Regions from separate parts of the Homo sapiens genome. Here all the other regions are linked to region 3. The links are contacts of gene promoters, found by promoter capture Hi-C in blood cells and fetal thymus (Javierre and others, 2016). All regions are on one chromosome and are shown on one strand. The core of a region is centred on a gene start or on the middle of the fragment in contact, and the rest is flanking DNA. Distances in the headings are between cores, read along the strand shown. Region 1 has its middle 21 kb from the start of MIR4424. Region 2 has its middle 3.1 kb from the start of MIR4424. Region 3 holds the start of C1orf220 (chromosome 1 putative open reading frame 220).

Evidence for each region. The method cuts DNA at HindIII sites, captures the fragments that hold promoters and counts their contacts. A CHiCAGO score of 5 or more calls a contact.
Region 1: a fragment that was not itself captured here is called in contact with the fragment with the promoter of C1orf220 in region 3 in 3 of 17 cell types (total B cells, naive B cells and endothelial precursors); the score reaches 22.5 in total B cells.
Region 2: a fragment that was not itself captured here is called in contact with the fragment with the promoter of C1orf220 in region 3 in 2 of 17 cell types (total B cells and naive B cells); the score reaches 9.8 in total B cells.

Annotation. Positions count from the first base shown.
Region 1 is chr1:178,696,458-178,700,490 of GRCh38, forward strand. No RefSeq gene overlaps it. Among named protein-coding and RNA genes, the nearest start is that of MIR4424, 21 kb to the left of the region's middle. The HindIII fragment of the contact is 1,154 bases long and covers 1,070-2,223 here.
Region 2 is chr1:178,672,392-178,676,827 of GRCh38, forward strand. No RefSeq gene overlaps it. Among named protein-coding and RNA genes, the nearest start is that of MIR4424, 3.1 kb to the right of the region's middle. The HindIII fragment of the contact is 9,920 bases long and covers 1-4,436 here.
Region 3 is chr1:178,541,493-178,546,020 of GRCh38, forward strand. C1orf220 (chromosome 1 putative open reading frame 220) reads left to right here and starts at 1,304. Exons shown (of 3, transcript NR_033186.1): 1 at 1,304-1,393; 2 at 3,721-4,411. LOC124904460 (a long non-coding RNA gene) reads right to left here and starts at 1,153. Exons shown (of 2, transcript XR_007066748.1): 1 at 542-1,153; 2 at 1-334. RefSeq lists an enhancer at 999-1,058 and silencers at 1,109-1,438, 1,469-1,538. The HindIII fragment of the contact is 17,585 bases long and covers 1-4,528 here.

The sequences.
Region 1 (4,033 bases), core at 397-2,896, 160 kb after region 3:
CGGATCACCTAAGGTCAGGAATTCAAGACAAGCCTGGCCAACATGGTGAAACCCTGTCTTCACTAAAAATACAAAAATTAGCCGGGCATGGTGACGCATGCCTGTAATCCCGGCTACTTGGGAGGCTGAGGCAGGAGAATCGCTTGAATCCAGGAGGCGGAGGTTGCAGTGAGCTGAGATTGTGAGCCACTGCACTCCAGCCTGGGCGACAGAGCCAGACTCCATCTCAAAAAACAAAAATGATAGATAGATTGACAGATAAGATAGAGTTATCCTTCACCTAACCTTCAACCTTCAAGTTTAAAAAATCAAATTTAACCTGTGAACCCCTTCCTATACTTCCTCTTCCTTTCTCCCACAGAGACAAGGACTGTCCTAAATTTTGTAAATAACATTCCTTTACTTTCCTTTATAGTTTTTATCCCTAAACACTACATTGTTTACTTTTGCATGTATTTGAACTTTCTACAAATGAGATCATGCAGTGGGTATTCATCTGTGACTTGCTCTTTTACCAAAATTATATTCCTCAGATTCATGCATATATTTGTAATTCATTGATTTTCACCACTGTATGGTATTTTGTTGTATGAAATATACCACTGTTGATTTATCCATTTTACTATTGATAAATACTTAGGTTGTTTCTTGGTTTTGGCTTTTGCAAATCATACCACTCTGATCTTTCTTGTGTGTGTCTCCTAGTACACATGTGTAAGTTTCTCTAAGGCATTAATATTTATCTAGCAGTGGAATTGCTAGGTTATAAGATACATGCCTCTTCAACCTTATTAGATAACACTAATAGTTTTCTAAAATTATTGTCCCAATTTGCATGCTTATTGGTTGTTTATGAGAGTTTCTTTCTGTTGCTCAATATACTTGTCAACACTTGGTATTATTATGTTTTTAGTTTTAGTCAAACTGGTTTCATAGCAGTGTCACATTGTAATCTTAACTTTCATCTTCCTGATTACTAATAAAGTTAAGCATCTTTTCATGTTTTTACTGAGCATTCAGGTTCCTTCTGTGAAGTTCCTATTCTAATGTTTTTCCCTTTTTTATATCAAGCTTTGTAAGAGTTGTTTACATTCTGATTATAAATTATTTGCTGTTATGTTTTACAGATTTGTTCTCCAAGTTTGTGGCTCGTCTTTAATGACCAGGGTTTCAAATATATATATAATTAAAAATATTAATTTTTTCTTTTGAGTTTGTGATTTTAAAGTCTGGTTCAAGAAATTCTTCCCTACACTGAGATTGTGAAGACATTACGTATTTATGTATTTATTTATTTTTTGAGACAGAGTCTCACTCTGTCACCCAGGCTGGAGTGCAATGGCATGATCTCGGCTCCCTGCAACCTCCGTCTCCTGGGTTCAAGCGATTCTCCTGTCTCAGCCTCCCGAGTAGCTGGGATTACAGGCGTTCGCCACCACTCCCGGCTGATTTTTGTATTTTAAGTAGAGATGACTTTTCGCCATGTTAGCCAGGCTGGTTTTGAACTCCCGACCTCAAGTGATCCATCCACCTCAGCCTCCCAAAGTGATGGGATTAAAGGTGTGAGCCACTGCGCCTAGCCTATCCTATATTATTTTCTATAAGTTGTATAGTTTTGCCTTTTACTTTTAAGTATATAATCCACCTGGAATTGATTAGGGGGGTGGGGTACGGTATGAGGTAGAGGTCCAAATTAATTATTCCCTTATGGGTAAACAATTGTCCCAGTACCACTTATTGATTTCCCATGACCTGCACTGACAGTGCTGACATAATTCAGTTTTTCACATCTATGTGGATCTGTTTATAGGTTCTTTATTCTATTTTATTGGCCAATTTTTCTATTCCCAAACTAACACCACACTCCTAATTACTTCGGCTTCATAATAAGTCTTGCTATCTTATAAGGCAGTTACCCTGCCCTACCTCCAACTATGTTTTTCTTCAGACTATTCTTGGCCACTAGTTCCTGTATATATATTTTTAAATTAGCTTATTAAATTCCAAAACAAAAAAAAAAAAACCCTGTGTTGTCATTTTGATTGAAATTACATTGAATTTTTAGAATAATTTGGGTAGAACTTACATGCTTATGAAATTGGGACTTCTAAAACATAAAATAGTATGTCTTTCCATTTTTATAGGCCATCTTTAATTATTTCAATAAACTTAAAGACAATTTTTGATATATATTACACACTTCTCTTGTTACATTTATTTGTAAGCTTTTTTTTTTGGCTTAAACAATAGACATTTATTCCTCACAGTTCTGCAGGCTAGGAGTCTGAGATGAGGATGTCATGACCTTTATTTTTTATGCTTTTTTTTTTTTTTTTTTTTTGAGGTGAGGTCTTGCTCTGTCACCCAGGCTGGAATGCAATGGCATGATTTTGGCTCACTGCAGCCTCCACCTCCCAAGTTCAAGCGATGCTCCTGCCTCAGCCTCCCGAGCAGCTGGGATTACAGGTGCCCACCACCACACCTGGCTAATTTTTGTATTTTTTAGTAGAGATGGAGTTTCACCATGTTGGCCAGGCTGGTCTCGAACTTCTGACCTCAAGTGATCCACCTGCCTTGGCCTCCCAAAGTGTTGGGATTACAGGCGTGAGCCACTGCACCTGGCCAGTTTAGGGCTTCTAAGTAGAATTGAAGCCACAGAACTCTCAAAGCCTAGACTCAGAAATCACACAGGTAACTTCCATTGTATTCTGTTGGTCAAAGCAAATCACTAGGAAAGCTCACTTTCAAGGGGAACAGAAATAGAGTGAACCTCTTGATGTGAGGAGAAATAAAATACTTCACATGTTTCTCTAAATGATAACATAGCCTGTCTTTTCTTGACTTGCTGAAATTATGATCATGGATGAACATTGAATTTTATCCAAATCTTTTTCTTTATTTTTAGAATAATCATGAGATTATTCTCATTTTTTCTGTTGATGTGGTGAATTATATTAATCAATTTTCTAATGTTAAGGTATCTTATATTTCAGGGATAAATTCAACCTGCTGGAGTCAGTTATGAATAATTTGTTTAGTATTATATTTTTGCCACTGTGTTCATAATTGAGACTGAGCTTTTTGTTTCTTGTTCTGTCCTTACTAGTTTTGATTCCAAGGTTATGTTAGCCAAACATCATAAATTATTCTCTCCTTTGCTGTAACCTAGAATAAGTTTTGTTTTTGTTTTTGTTTTAAAGGAGTCTCGCTCTGTCGCCCAAGCTGGAGTGCATTGGCATGATGTTGGCTCACTGCAACCTCCACCTCCTGGGTTCCAGCAATTCTCCTGCCTCGGCCTCACAAGTAGCTGGGATTACAGGCATGCGTCACCATGCCCAGCTAATTTTTGCATTTTTTAGTACAGACGGAGTTTCACCACATTGGCCAGACTGGTCTCCAACTCCTGACCTTGTGATCCGCCCACCTTGGCCTCCCAAAGTGCTGGTATTACAGGTGTGAGCCACCATGCCAAGCCTAGAATAAGTTTTTAAATATTGAAATGATGTGTTCCTTGAATGTATGGTAGAAATGGCAGCAAAGCTGGTGGAGGTAGTGGTGATGGCATGTTTGCTTTGGTTTGGTTTAGTTGGAAGATTTCTAAGTATTTATTTTTTAAAATTGTAGACTTAGTTTTCTTGTATCTTCTTGAGGAAGTTTTAAGTTATACTCTCCAAGAAATGTTTCCATTTTACTGAAGTTTTCAAATCTCTTGGCATGTTCATTGTTCAGGGTATTCTCTCACCTTTTAGTGTCTGCAATATCTACAACATGGCCCCTTTTTCATTCCCAGTATTGTTTATTGATGTTCTCTTTTCTTTTTCTTGATAAGCTACCAGAATTCTGTCCATTTTACTCATCTTTTCAGAAAACTTTGACTTTGTTGATTTTATCTAATGTATTTTTCCCATTAGTTTCTGTTTTCTTAACTGAATTATTTCTTTTTTCTACTTTCCTTGGATCTGTGCTGCTTTAGCTGGGTGTTTGGCTCATTAACTTTCAAACTTTCTTCTTTTGTCTGAGTACTACTGCAGTA
Region 2 (4,436 bases), core at 219-2,718, 130 kb after region 3:
GACACCATTGAATAAATGTGTGCATTATGGAAGTCCCAGAAGAAGAGAAAAAGAGAAAGAGGTAGAAATCTTATTTAAAACAATAGTGGCTGAAAAGTTCCCAAATCTTGGGAGGGAAGTGGACATCAAGACTCATAAAATCTCAAAATTCCCAAGATCAATCCAAAGAAGACTATTCCAAGACATATGGTCAAATCATCAAAAATCAAACACAGAGAAAATTTTGAAAGCAGCAAGAGAAACTCTTCACATACAAGGGAAATCAATTAGGCTATCAGAGATTTCTCAGCAGATATATTCAAAGTGCTTAAAAAACAAAAACAAAATTAAAAAAAAAAAAGCATGCCAACCAAAATACTAAAGCCAGAAAAGCCATCCTTCAGAAATAAAGAAGAGATAAAGACATTCCCAGACAAAATGTAACAAAGCTCACCACTAAAACTGCCTTACAAAAAATGCTAAAGGGAGTTCTGCAAGTTGAAACAAAAGGATGCTAAGTAGCAACATAAAAATATATGAAAGCACAAAAGTCACTGGTAAAGGTAAATACATAGTCAAGTTCAGAATGCTCTAATACTATAATAGCAGTAGGTAAATCATTTTTACTTCTAGTATAAAAGTTAAAAAACAAAAATATGGCCAGGTACGGTGGCTCACGCCTGTAATCTCAGCATTTTGGGAGGCCGAGGCAGGCAGATCACCTGAGGTCAGGAGTTCAAGACTAGCATGGCCAACATGGTGAAACCTCATCTCTACTAAAAATACAAAAAATTAGCCAGGGGTGGCAGCACACGCCTGTAATCCCAGCTACTCAGGAGGCCAGGGCATGAGAATCACTTGAACTTGGGAGGCAGAGGTTGTAGTGAGCCAAGATTGCACCATTACACTCCAGCCTGGGCAACAAGAGTGAAACTCTGACTCAGAAAAAAAAAAAAAAAAGACAAAAATGTTTAAAATAACTATAGCTACAATAATTTGTTAATAGACGCAATAAAATGATGTTAAGTGTGACATCAGTAGCATAAAATGCAAGGTGGAAGAGAAGTAAAAATGTAAAGTATTTGTATGTAATTGAAGTTAATTTGTTATCAGGTTAAAATAGACCATTATAACTATAAAATATTTTATGTAATCCTCATGGCAACCAAAAAGAAAAAAAAATCTAGCAGATATATAATGGATAAAAGGGTACATAATCAAAGCATAGCACTACCAAAAAATTAAATCACAAAGAAAGACAATAAGAGAGAAAGAAAAGAACAAAGGAATTACAAAGCTGTCAGAAAACAATTAACAAATGGCAATAGTAAGTCTTTACCTATCAAGAATTACTTTAAATATAAAGGTTTAAATTCTCCAATCAAAAGACACAGAGTGGTTGAATAGATTTTAAAAATAAAACGAGGCCAGGTATGATGGCTCATGGCTGTAATCCCAGCACTTTGGTAGGCCAAGGCAGGCGGATCACCTGATGTCAGGAGTTTGAGACCAGCCTGACCAACATGGAGAAACCCCATCTCTACTAAAAATACAAAATTAGCTGGGCGTGGTGGCACATGCCTGTAATCCCAGCTACTCAGGAGACTGAGGCAGGAGAATGGCTTGAACCCGGGAAGCGGAGGTTGCAGTGAGCCGAGATCATGCCATTGTACTCCAGCCTGGGCAACAAGAGCAAAACTCCATCTCAAAAAATAAAAAAAAAAATTAAAAAATAAAACAAGACCAATAATATACTGACTACAATAGACTCACTTTAGCCTACATAGGCTAAAAGTGAATGGATGGGAAAATATATCCTTTGCAAATAGTAACCAAAAGAGAGCAGAAGTGGCTATACTTATATCAGCCAAAATAGACTTTCAGTCAAAATCTGTCACAAGAAACCAAGAAGGTCATTAAACAATGATAAAGGAGTCAATTCATCAAGAGAATATAAAAATTATAAATATATATGCACCCAATGTCAGAGAACCTAAACACATAAAGGAAATATTAACAAGACTAAAGAGAGAAATAGATAGCAATACAATAATAGGAGAATTCAGTATGCCACTGTTTTTTGTTTTTTTTTTTTAATTTTTTATTTTGAGACAGAGTCTTGCTCTGTCACCCAGGCTGGAGTGCAGTGGTGTGATCTCAGCTCACTGTAACCTCGGCCTCCCGAATTCAAGCAATTCTCATGCCTCAGCCTCCCAAGTAGCTGGGATTACAGAATTGTGCCACCATGCCCAGCTAATTTTGGTATTTTTAGTAGAGACAGGGTTTCACCATGTTGGCCAGGCTGGTCTCAAATTCCTGACCTCAGGTGATCTGCTTGCCTCGGCCTCTCAAAGTGCTGGGATTACAGGCATGAGCCACCATGCCTGGCCATATGCCACTTTCAACAATGGATAGATCATTCAGACAAAAAATCAATAAGGAAACAGTAGACTTGAATAATGCTATAAACCAAATGGACCTAACAGACACACATGGAACATTCCACTCAACAGCAGCAGATTTCACATTTTTCTCAAGAGCAATGGAATATTCTCTAGGATAGATCATATATTAGGCCATAGCACAAGTCTTAACAAATTAAAGAAGATTGAAATCACATCAAGTATCTTTCCTGAAATCAATAATATAGAACTATAAATTAATAACAAGGAAAATTGGAAAATTCACAAATAGTATTAATAGAAATTAAACAACATGCTCTTGAACAACCAGTGGGTCAAAGAAGATTTAAAAAACTGTCTTCAAACCAACAGAAATAGAAACATAACATACCAAACATGGGATGCAACAAAAGCAGTTCTAACAGAGGAATTTATAGAGATAAATACCTAAATTTTAAAAAGAAAGATCTCACAGCCAGGTGCAGTGGCTCATGCCTGTAACCCCAGCAGTTTGGGAGGTCGAGGTGGGCAGATCACTTGAGGTCAGGAGTTCATGGCCAACATGGTGAAACCCCATCCCTACTAAAAATACAAAAATTAGCCAGGCCTGGTGGCAGGCACCCTCAGGAGGCTGAGGCAGGAGAATTCCTTGAAGCCAGGAGGCAGAGGCTGCAGTGAGCTGAGACTGTGCGACTTTACTCTAGCCTGTGCAACAGAGTGAGACTCTGTCTCAAAAAAAAAAAAAGACAAACTAAGCCCAAAGTTAGCAGAAGGGAGAAAAATAACAAAAATTAGAGCAGAAGTAAATGAAATAGAGAACAGAAAGACAATTTAAAAGATCAAAGAAACTAAGAGTTGATTTTTTAAAAAGATAAACAAAATTGACAAACCTTTAGTAAACTAACCAAGAAAAAAAGAAAGATGACTCAAAAAATTACAATCAGAAATGACAAAAGAATAGTTACAACTGATACCACAAAAATACAAAAGATTAGGTGGATTCCACCAAACAGAGAAGAATAAACACCAATTCTTCTAAAACTTTTCTAAAAAAAAAAATCAAGAGGGAGGAACATTTCCAAACTCTTTTTACAAGGCCAGTATTACCCTTGCATCAAAGTTAGATAAGAACACTAAAAGAAAAGAAACTTACAGGCTTATACTGAACACAGATGGAAAAATTCTCAATAAAATTTTTGCAGGCTGAGGCCAGGCACAGTGGCTCACTTGGGGATGCCAAGGTGGGCAGATCACTTGAGGCCAAGAGTTTAGACCAGCCTGGCCAACATAGTGAAACCCGGTCTTTACTGAAAATACAAAAATTGGGCCAGGTGCGGTGACTCCCACCTGTAATCCCAGCACTTTGGGAGGCCGAGGTGGGTGGATCACCTGAAGTCAGGAGTTTGAGACTAGCCTGGCCAATATGGTGAAACCATGTCTCTACTAAAATTAGAAAAGTTAGCTGGGTGTGGTGGTGCACATCTGTAATCCCAGCTACTTGGGAGGCTGAAGCATGAGAATAGCTTGAGCCCAGGAGGCGGAGACTGCAGTGAGCCGAGATTGCATCACTACATTCCAGCCTGGGTGGCAGAGCAAGACTCTGTCTCAAAAAGCAAAACAAAACAAAAATTGGCTGGGCAAGGTGATGTATGCCTGAAGTCCCAGCTACTTGGGAGGTTGAGGCACAAGAATCACTTAAACCCGGGAGGCAGAGGTTGCAGTGAGCTGAGATTGCACAATGGCCCTCCAGCCCGGGTGACAGAGTGAGACTCTGTCTCAAAAAAAAATGTTAAATTAAAAAAATATATATTAACTGGCTGAATTCAACAGCACATTAAAAGGAGCATACACTATGATCAAGTGGAATTTATCCTTGGTATGTACGGATGGTTCAACATACACAAATCAATAAATGTAATAAACCACATTAACAGGATAAAGGTAAAAATCATATGATCATCTCAATTGATGCAGAGAAAGCATTTAACATCCTTTTATGATAAAAATTCTCTACAAATTAGGTATAGAAGGAAGGTACCTCAACATAATAAAGGC
Region 3 (4,528 bases), core at 54-2,553:
AGGTCAGGTCATTGCCCCCTGTCAGACTCAAGCCCATCACAGCCCTTGCTATGCTGACAGGCCCATCCCACCCCAGCCCGCTCCCCCCACCACCTGCCCCCCTCCGCCACCTCACCTGTGCCTTCTGCACGCCTCTCCCACCACTCCCCCTCCCTCCCTTTACTCTGGCCACTCTGAATGTCACTGGTCCTCCTTGAGCCCTCCTGAGCCCTCTGCCCAGAGTAATGCCAGAGTGGAGGCCACAGCTGAAGGCAGAGGCTGTTGGCCTGGGGTGGAGAGGGGAGATTCCTCTGGGTGGAAGGTGACATTGGGCAGCCTTGGATGAAGTGAATACCTGGTGTGGGGAAGCAAAAATAAATAGAGAAACAAACGGATTAATTTTGCTTCTTTCCAGGGACTTGATTTTCTACAAGTGCTGCTCCAAGAGGCTTCTACACCCCCGCAGGGAGGCAAGCACCGTTTTGAGGTGGCCGGGCTGGCGAGGAGGTGCAGACCCCAGCCAGCTGGAGGGGCTCTGCCCTGATGGCGTTCCCACTCCCACCTCATTCGCAGGGCGCCGGGGAGGGCTGCAGGTGTTCTATTCCCACCCGGCTTGCAGCGCAAGGAGGGGAATCGCCTGACACCTTCCCCTTCTCCTCTGCCCCGCTTCCTTTCTCTGCTCCCACAGGTGGAAGTCACCAGCGGAAACAACCCTTCACTGTATGGAGGGCTGGGAGAGAGGGGCCAAGAGGGCCCCGGGAGAGCCACTGGGCGGCAGGCAAGGGGCGGGGCAGTCTCCCTTCCGGCTTCCGGGACCGAAGGGTGAAGGGCAAGGGGAGCTCAGGGAATGAACGAGTGCTCCCGACTAATGTTTAACCCACGACTCCGAGACTCCGACTGGTCACAGTCCTGCAGACCTCCAGGTCCTGCACAGGCGACGCAGCGCTCCACTGGCCCGGAATGCGCACCCCGGGGGAAATGGAAAGTGCCATTGAAATGTCAGATGTCACCGTCTTCATCAGCACTCTTGGAATTTTGGCCAAAGTGGCTTCTTCTTTTGCTGAGACTTGACTCACTCCCGGCAGAGGGATGATAGCGGCCTTGCCCCGAGCGTTTATCCGGCTGCAGGCGTCATTCTTGGTCGCCTGTGTGTCCAGAGCCCCAGCGCAGGAAGGGAGCGCAATTCCCACCGCGCCCGCTGGGTGGCGCTAGCGCCGCACCGTGTCCCGGGATGAGGGGAAACCGCGCTGCCCAGTCAGTACCCCGACGCCCCCGCGCCCCCGCCGGGCCCCGCGCGCTGCAGCCACCGCCTCTTCTCGGCTTCCTCTTGCTTTACAGTAACTCTCCTCCTGGGGAAAAGGCTTTTCACGGAGCAGGCTCGGAGCCTACGGGGCTGGCCTCGGACTGGATGGGGGTAAGGACGGGTGGCGGCGCTCGCGCCGAGCGAACGGAGGGCTCAGGCGGCCGGTGATCAGGGACGGGCTGCGGCCGCCGTCTGGGGTGAGAGGCCCACCCAGAGCTCTGGGCCAGGGCTCGCGGCTCTCGTGCAGATGCTGGGCCGGGAGGTGTGGGGAGGGGGCTTCCCAGGCGGGGCAACCGGAGGGGAATGGGGTGTGCAGGAGGGAGGGGAGGCGTGGAGCGCCCGGCCTGCAGGCACTGGGCGGCGCTCTCCAGCCTCCTCTTCTCCCGCCGGGTGCCTGGTGGCTTGGCCTCCCCTCCAGAGCTTCGCATATCCTGGCGGGAGCCGGCGCTCTCTCTCCATACTTAGGACTTGACCCTTATTCCACACCCGGGCAGGGAATCATTTGCCCAATCCGAATTTGATTTTCTGCTTGTGAGAGGAGAAACTGGTGACAGTGTCGCATGGACACTGTCGGGGAAGCCGAGACGTAGACCTGGAAGCCTGTACCAGAGGCCTTGTGGACAGCTTTGGAGCATGCATCTTAAGGCACACCACCGGTTTCTGCTGCTTTGGCACAGCCACGCAGCACCTAGGATGCTTCTCTGCACGCAGCAGAGGCCTAATCCGTGCACCCTCTGACGGTGTTGGAGGGAGCTGGGGAGCAACATCAGATTAATAGCCCCTGGGCTATTTGTATGACGTGCAGATTTCACCCTCTCATTCTTAAAGGGTGAAAGGCTGCAATTCAGAAAGGCGAAGATGGGGCCCAGGAATCTGCAATCTGCGTGGGGTTTTTTTTTTTTTTATGAAGTCTTGTTCTGTCGCTCAGGTTGGGGTGCAGTGGCGCGATCTGTGCTCACCGCAACCTGTCTTCCAGGTTCAAGCGATTATCCTGCCTCAGCCTTCTGAGTAGCTGGGACTACAGGTGCATGACACCACACCTGGCTAATTTTTGTATTTTTAGTAGAGATGGGGTTTCACCATGTTCGCCAGGCTGGTCTTGAACTCCTGACCTCAAGTGATACGCCCACCTTGGCCTCCCAACGTGCTGGGATTACAGGCATGAGCCACCGCGCCTGGCCAGAGTTTGCATTTTGTTGTTGTCGTTTGTTTGTTTGAGACGGAGTCTCGCTCTGTGGCCCAGGCTGGAGTGCAGTGGCGCCATCTCGACTCACTGCAACCTCTGCTTCCCAGGTTCAAGCGATTCTCCTGCCTCAATCTCCCAAGTAGCGGGGATTAACAGGCGTGCCACCACCATGCCTGGCTAAATTTTTTATTCTTAGTAGAGACAGGGTTTCTCACGTTGGGCAGGCTGGTCTCAAGCTCCTGATCTGCCCGCCTTGGCCTCCCAGAGTGCTGGGATTACAGGTGTGAGCCACCGCGCCTGGCCTGTTTTGTTTTCCTAAATCCAGAAGTTCTGATTCAAGCCTAAACCTGCCACTTCCATTCCCAATCCTCTGAGCTTCATGAGCTCCAGACACAGGGCTGTTAATCACAATTTCTTTAATTCTTTATATCTCTTGTGGAATTAGAGGAGTAGATGTTCTTTCTTTTTGGGAAAAACATTAGAAAATGCCTACATGTCTTTATTGAAAGAACTTAAAAACAATGTATTTCTCTAGGGTTTATTTTCCCTCACGGCTCTCAACCTTCTCAAAATATAAGGTTGGCGGATTAATTATACTGAAAGTCTTCAGTTGGATATTTTATTATAGTATTTTTAAAGTCGTGTTTTGTAATTGCCCTGACAATGTAAGGAATGATATTTGTGAGGGTGAGTCAACAACACCTTCCCTGTTGGTGTCTGCCCTCTAATAACCCCACGGGCTGGATCCCCAGCACCTGGAAGGAATCATCATGGAACGTTAATAAGGAGGAAGGCTGGTTCTGGCGCCTGGAACACTTCAGAGACAGAAAGCAGTGACTAGGCCAGACAGGCCCGTTGTTTTTGCGCTTTGAGAGAGAAGTGAGAAATGGAAAGTAGTCTCTTTATCTTCTCAGCAAATACAGCCTATGCTCAGAATTTCTCCGACTTCCCATCTCTGAGATGCCGGATGCCCAGTTCCACAGAATCATGGCAAGCGAGAAACTGTCGTTCATAAGAGTTCAAGAAAATGAATATTCTCTCAACTCTGTGAGGGCCAGTGGGTTCCAGGCGAGATGAGACAACTTGGTGAGCGTCGTAACTGAGCTCCCAATGCATTTAGAAGCCTCTGGATGGCCGGGGGGTGCATTCCAGCTGTGCTGGAAAAATTATATTTTGAAGTTAAATCTGGTAGTGTTTTTTCCAATATGAATAGGCCTCAGGAAAGAGATAATACATTTCCTTCTTTGTTCAGAGGGTGCTCAACTTGCTGGAGTCATCTCTGCTATGGCTTTATTTGCCAACAACAGAGAACTTGCTCTGCAGCAGCCCCAGGCTCTCTGGGGACCCCACAGGCTATGCAGATCCCCCACCCCAGAACCACAGAAGGAGACAGAGCAGAAGCACACCCCGTCTTCCAGGCCCAGGACAGCTGCTGAGCTCCAGGACACGGACTCTTGAAGGTTGATTTTGACTACTTACTAAGCTCCAGCTGAACCAGTTCCACTTCTTTAACCTTCCCATGATCCCTGTGAGGGGTCTGTGGTATTGCTATTTGCAAGTAAAGAAAGTGAGATTGAGGGAGGCTGAAAGACTTGGCCCCAAGTCACAATGCCCTGCTGAATGTGGTGCTGCCTCCTGGATATCCTGGGTGCTTCAACATCAACAGCTCTTGGCAAGTGAGTGGGCCACGAAGGATGGACGAGGGACATGGGGGAGCAAGCCCAGCTGCACGGTTCCAGCTCTTTCCGCCACATCACAGCTTCTGCAGTTGGGAAGACTGAACAGTGATCTTCAGTTTGTTCGTCAAAGGGCCAAGAAATCTGTGTCCTCACCTTCTCTGCTTCAATTCTGGTGCTGCTTAAGCCGATTATCATTTCATGCCCTAAACCAAAAAATAAACTCTACAAACATCAACATTACATAGGACAGGATCTGGCCCACAGGTAAGAAAAGCACCTACAAGAGAGCTGCATGGAGCTGTGGGTGCATTTCCTGTTACCACCAGGGCATCCCAGAATGCTGACAAAGAGAAAACTAAGACCTTCCCACTCTGATTTGTT